2 separate regions of the Homo sapiens genome follow, and region 2 is linked to region 1. Evidence: promoter capture Hi-C in human tissues and cell types (Jung and others, 2019). All regions are on one chromosome and are shown on one strand. The core of a region is centred on a gene start or on the middle of the fragment in contact, and the rest is flanking DNA. Distances in the headings are between cores, read along the strand shown.

Region 1 (2,928 bases), core at 321-2,820:
CACCCCCCTCCACTGTGACCCAAGGGGTGCAAGGCCTGACCAAGGCCAGAGTCCCTGCTGTCGCTGGAACAGAGACTCAAAGCAGGAGCTTTGCTCCCGCTTCATTCCCTGCCTCTCTGTGAGCTCCAGAGACTAGAGGGACAGGCCAGGGCCATCCTCATCCTGCTTGAAGCAGCCCTGCTGGGCCTGACGCCTGGGGAGGGGCTTTGATGGGGTCTGCATGGGAAGAAGGTAGAAGGGAGCTTCTGTCCTTAGGTCCCACAAATTGCTGCTGAGAGCTTCCCTCACCCCAAGAGGAGATAGCCAGTCCCAGCCCTGTCCTATCCTCTTCCGGCAAACTTTGTCCTTCAAGCCAAACCCTTCCTGGGAGAATTCTGCCCCCCTCTCTAAAACATAGGGTTACCTAGACCTCTGGGTCTGGCCCTGGGGAGGGTGGTGGGGATATTGGGGACCTCAGGATGGGGTCCCCAACTTACATGACTGGCTTCCAACCAGTGCCCCCACCTGAACCAGGCCTGGGCGCCCAGGGGAGACAGGGGCGAGGGTAGAAAGCAATCTCCAATGATTGACACCCTGGGCTTTGAGAGTTTCGGTGCCAATGCCAGGGTACCAGGCCCAGTGCCCTGGGCACAATATGCGTTTCTGGCAAGTGAGGACTCGGGACTCTGGCCCCAGAGGATAGTGAAGCAGTGGGGCCTGGCAGTTACCATCATCGTGGAGTGGCGACCAACTTGGCCTTCACCCAAGACCCCCACCATCACCCTCACCCTGGCTGCCCCAACAGGTACCCCTGGCCGCGAGCCAGGAAGGGAAGGTCCCATCCAGGGCGCCAGCCGTGAGCTCTTGGTTGGGCTCCGAGCTGCAGCCCCGGGTGAGGCGGCTTCGGGGCCGCAGAGCTCCGAGGCCGGGCCATGCCTGGGGGCCCGGCGCTGCGCTGGGCGGAGTGGGCGCCGCGCTCGGAACGCTCAGAGCGCAGGCGGGGCGCACGCACTTGGCCAGGGCCGGCGCGCCCTTCCCGGCACGCACGTGCGCGGGTGGGCGCCGCGAACCCTGCGCGGAGGGTGCGGCCCCCGCCCTGGGGTCCCAGGAGGCCCTGCCGCCGCCCGGTTCCCGCCCTCGCCAAGGCGCAGGTGCGCGGCCCTCCCGCCCGGGTCGCGGCCGCCCGCACTCACCGTGCCCTCGGACGGCAGGTAGCCGATGTCCTCGATGGCGCAGATGTTGATGATGTGGACGCTGCGGTCCTCGGCCGGGAGCGTCGAGTACTTCTCGTTGACCCTCATCGTGGCCGCCTGTGCGCTGGGACCGCCGGGCGGCGCGCCCTCCCCATCCACGGCCCCGGCGGCCTCTGCGGGCGGAGACCGCAGCGTTCGCGGCGCGCTCGCAGGGGGCCGGGCCTCCCCGCGCCCAGGCCCGCCGGGGACGTGGCCGCCTCCCGCTCCGCCCGCCGCCCTGGCCCGCCCGGCCCGCGCGCTCGATGCGGGGGGCGCCTGAGCCTCTCGGGGCCGATCGCGCCGCCACCCGGCTGCTGGTCCCGCGGGCCGGCCCGCGCCTGGTCAGGAACTTGGACGCCAGCCGGCCCGCCTTTGCCTTAAAGATATAAGCGCTCTCCGCCCGCCTATGGCAGGGGCGGTGGCCGCGCCGGTCAGATTTTCCGTAGAAATTTAAACACAGGAAGAAAAAGTATTCCATTCCTGCGGGCCCCTCCAAGTTTTATTTTTATCCAGGGAAAGTGCCCCTTTGGATTTTTGAGGGTTTTCATACCGGGTGTGAAAGGGGGGAACTTTCAATAGCCCCACCTGAAATAAAGTCCCCGAGTGGCAGGCGCTTCTGTGGCGCGTCACCTCCGCCTCCGGGGGGAGTGAAGCTTCTGAGATTGGAGTCTGGATCTCTGCCCCTTTCCCTCCACCCTGGCAAACTCCTGCTGTCACTCAGCACTCACCTCCTCCGGGGAGCTTGCCTGGTTCCTGCCGACCCGCCCCCTCCAGCTGCCCGCGCTCCTGGGGGAGTCTCTCCCGGGGCAGTCATCTCCCTGGAGCCCACTGATGTTACCGGTGCCCCCGAGTTTACGGAGTGCTTAGTGTTCTGTGCCCAGGTGCGTGCAGCGTCCCTGATGTAGGGCGTGAGTGTGTATCATCTCATTTAACCCCGCACCTGCAAGGTTGGAATGCGGGTCCTCATTTTGCAGAGGACACTCAGGCTTAGGAGGGCCAAGGACCAGTCCGCATCCTCTGAGGTGGGGCGGGGCTCCTGCAGAGCTTTCCCCACTGCTGGGCAAGGCTGTCCTGCTTTCTGGAGGGGCGGAGCGGGGGGGATGGTGGCTTTGATCTCTCTTACCCCCGGACCTAGCAGGGGTCTGGCACACTGCAGATCTTCAAGTCTTCTTCCCCTAAGGAGAATAAGGCAGGTCCCCAGGGGACGACCATACTCAGGTTAAGCCCCAGGGGCCATGCTGGCCACCACATCCAGTGGAAATAAAGTGTCCCTCTGCCTCTCACATCCTATGAGTTCTTCACGGTGTGCATCAGATAGCACCTCCTGCAGGAAGTCCTGCTGGATTCTCCCCTACTGTCCCCTTCCCACCCAAATATGCAGGCCTTCCTGTCTATCCAAAGAACCTGCCTGAACCCCAACTAGCACTTCATTTATTCCGTCTCATTTTACAGTGGGTTGTCTACCAGGTTCACACAGCCGATGCTCAATAATTGCTTGTTAAATGGCCACTGGGGAACATTCAAGGCCTACAGAAGTGATTAGAAAATTGTCTTTAAAGGCCACGATGTCGTCAGCGTGCCATGGTTCCAAGCATGGAACCTGGAGTCAGCTAGGATAGGGTTGGAGAGAAGGGGTGGGGTCTAGCTCCAGCTCTGGCACCTTCCAGCCTTGTGACCTTGTGCCAGCCTCCTTGGCCTCAGAGCCTCCTGGGCCTCA
Region 2 (2,928 bases), core at 287-2,786, 130 kb after region 1:
GAAAGGTGGCTTTGCCTCTAGATTGCTTCTAGAGTTGTGGCAACTTTATGCAAGTCAGATCAAAGTGCTCCTTCTACAAGACACACCATTTCCACCCAGCAGAAAATCATGCAAAGATGCAGAGGTGCAGTGCCTGTGCTGAGAACAGTGCTCCTAAGGTGCCGCACTCTCCTGCAAGGCAAAATGCATACCGATGTGGGGGCGCGGCTTCCACTGAAATCCAGGCAAACTCTGAACTTGGAGGTTTTATATTTAGGTTGTATTAGTAATTTTCAATTCATAATTCATAATAAATACTTGTATTATTAATTATTATAATTAATACTTGTATTATTAATTATTATAGTTAATAATAACTAATTATTATAATTAATTATATATTAAAATATATTAAAAATATATTAAAATATATTGTATATAAAATATAATATAATTAATTATATATTTAAAAATATAATTAATAATAACTAATTATATTATAATTAATAGATAATTAATATTATGATTATTAATAACTAATAATTAACTATGATAATTAATAATAACTCATAATTAATAATTAATAATTAATAAAGGAACAGAGGGGAAGAGTTGCTATGGACTGAATGTTCGTGTACCCCCAACATTCATATGTGGAAACCCTAATCTTCAATGAGATGGGTTTGGGAGGTGGGGCCTTTGGGAGGTGATGAGGTCATGAGCTTGTGGTCCTCATGATGGGATTAGAGTCCTTACCAGAAGAGAGGCAAAGAAATGCTTTCTCTGTGTGTCTCCGTCTCTGTGTGTCTCTGTCTCTCTGTCTCTGTCTCTGTGTCTCTCTGTGTGTCCCTGTGTGTCTCTGTCTCTGTGTCTCTCTGTGTGTCTGTGTGTCTCTGTGTCTCTCTCTGTGTGTGTCTCTGTGTCTCTGTATGTCCCTGTGTCTCTGTGTCTCTGTCTCTGTTTCTCTCCCCACCGTGTGGGCACACAGTGAGAAAACAGCTGTATTAGTCATGCTGCCTATAAAGACATACCCAAGACTGGGCAATTTACAAAAGAAAGAGGTTTAATTGGACTTAAGTTCCATATGGCTGGGGAAGCCTCACAATCTTGGCGGAAGGCAAGGAGGACCAAGTCCTGTCTTACACGGATGGCAGCAGACAAACAGAGAATTTGCCACTCCAAGGCAAATGGCCTCAAACACCCCCATAAACGCGTCTTTTCTCTACCACAGGTGTCTGTTTTTGTTTGCTTCCCTCTTTGTGGCCATCAGAGCTCCACCTTCTCTGCCCGCCTCCTGCCAAGTGCCTCTTCTCTAAGTCCTAAGCTCCCCCACACGATGTCAGATCCCCTTCAGCCAAAGCCAAAACCCCTGATAAAACCCTCAGATCTCATGAGACTTATGTTCACTACCACGAGAACAGTATGGGGGAAACTGCCCCATGATTCAATTATCCCCCAGCGACTCCCTCCCACAACACGTGGGAATTATGGGAGTAAAATTCCAAGATGAGATTTGGGTGGGGACACAGCCAATCCATATCAACGGCTATCTGCAAACTAGGAATGGAGTAAGTGAGCCCTCACCAGACACTGTGTCTGCCAGAACCTTGGTGCTGGACTTCCAGCTTCCAGAAATGTAAGTAATAAATGCCTGCTGTTGCTAAGCCCCTCAGCAACAAGACATCAAGCTAAAAAGACAGACGAGCACATAGCACTCCATGGCAAATGGCCTCAAACATTCCCATAAACACATCTTTTCTCTACCACAGGTAGAGTCCTTACTCTTGTTTCCCTCTTGTGGCCATCAGAGCTCCACCTTCTCTGCCCACCTCCTGCCAAGTGCCTCTTCTCTAAGTCCTCAGCTCCCCCACATGATATCAAATCTCCTTCAGCAAAGATAAGCCTGCTTCCTTGAGAGGCCTCCCTATTAACAGAGCAGGGGTACCACCATGTTAAAGCTTAAGCCTCAGCTTGGAGGGGTCATGTCCCTCCCACCTCTGCCCCCGTGGCTTACCATAGTATGCCTTCTAATTACATCTGCACTCCCCGGCAGGCATTCTGGTAAGTAGAGTTTCCCCATTTTGTTTCATACAGAGGAGCACAAAGAAGAAAATTAAAACCATAAGCAATCTTGCTGTTGGAAGGTATCTTTTATTAGTCTTTAGTCCACTGTGAAGCACCTTTCTATGATGTTGGGTTTCCCTGATTTGGAGCATCCCTGAAACATATAACTCACTCACTCACCTACCCAGCCTTTCACCTACCCATCTACCCACATATCTATCCATCCATCCATCCATCCATCCATCCATCCACCCACCCATCCATCCATCCATCCAGTTACCCACATATCCACCCATCCATTTATCCATCATTCATTCACACATCAACCCATCCACCCATCTATCCATTCATCATCTGTTCATCCATCCACTCACATAGCTATCCATTAATCCATCCAGCCAGCCATCTATCATCCATCCACATATCCATCCACCCACTCATCCATCCATTACTCTCATTTCCTTCCTCTTTTCCTTCCTTCCTTCCTTCCTCCCTCCTTCCCTCTCTCCCTTCCCTTCCCCTCCCTCATTTCCCTTCCCTTGCCTTCCTTCCCTCTCTCCTTTCTTCCTTCCTTCTACCCATCCAGCAAATACTTGCTAGGCACCTGTCATCTCTACTGTTCGTGCTTATTGTTGACTGTAAAATGAATCTTTCTTTATTGAGGTCCCTCAATAAAGGTGGGAGCCAGGGGAGGGCCCTCTGGGTTCTTCCAGCTCAGCAAAGGGTGGGGTGACAGCATGGAAACGTGGTGTTCTTTTTGCATGACCGGGTGGAAGATTAAAATCGCCCCTGGTAGAAAGGAGTCTAGTCTTGCCAGTGCTGCAGATTCTTGGTAAGATCACTTCAAATGCTTAACGTGATACATGGTTCCACCAAGTGACAGAA

What was found. Contacts are between HindIII fragments. The study calls those that stand out against the background at their distance.
Region 2: a fragment that was not itself captured here is called in contact with the fragment with the promoter of ANO1 in region 1 in 3 of the 25 tissues and cell types used here (H1 embryonic stem cells, aorta and liver).

Annotation. Positions count from the first base shown.
Region 1 is chr11:70,076,959-70,079,886 of GRCh38, reverse strand. It overlaps ANO1 (anoctamin 1), which reads right to left and starts at 1,570. Exons shown (of 26, transcript NM_018043.7): 1 at 1,173-1,570. The coding sequence starts at 1,280. The HindIII fragment of the contact is 18,532 bases long and covers 1-2,928 here.
Region 2 is chr11:69,944,898-69,947,825 of GRCh38, reverse strand. No RefSeq gene overlaps it. Among named protein-coding and RNA genes, the nearest start is that of LINC02753, 120 kb to the left of the region's middle. The HindIII fragment of the contact is 8,856 bases long and covers 1-2,928 here.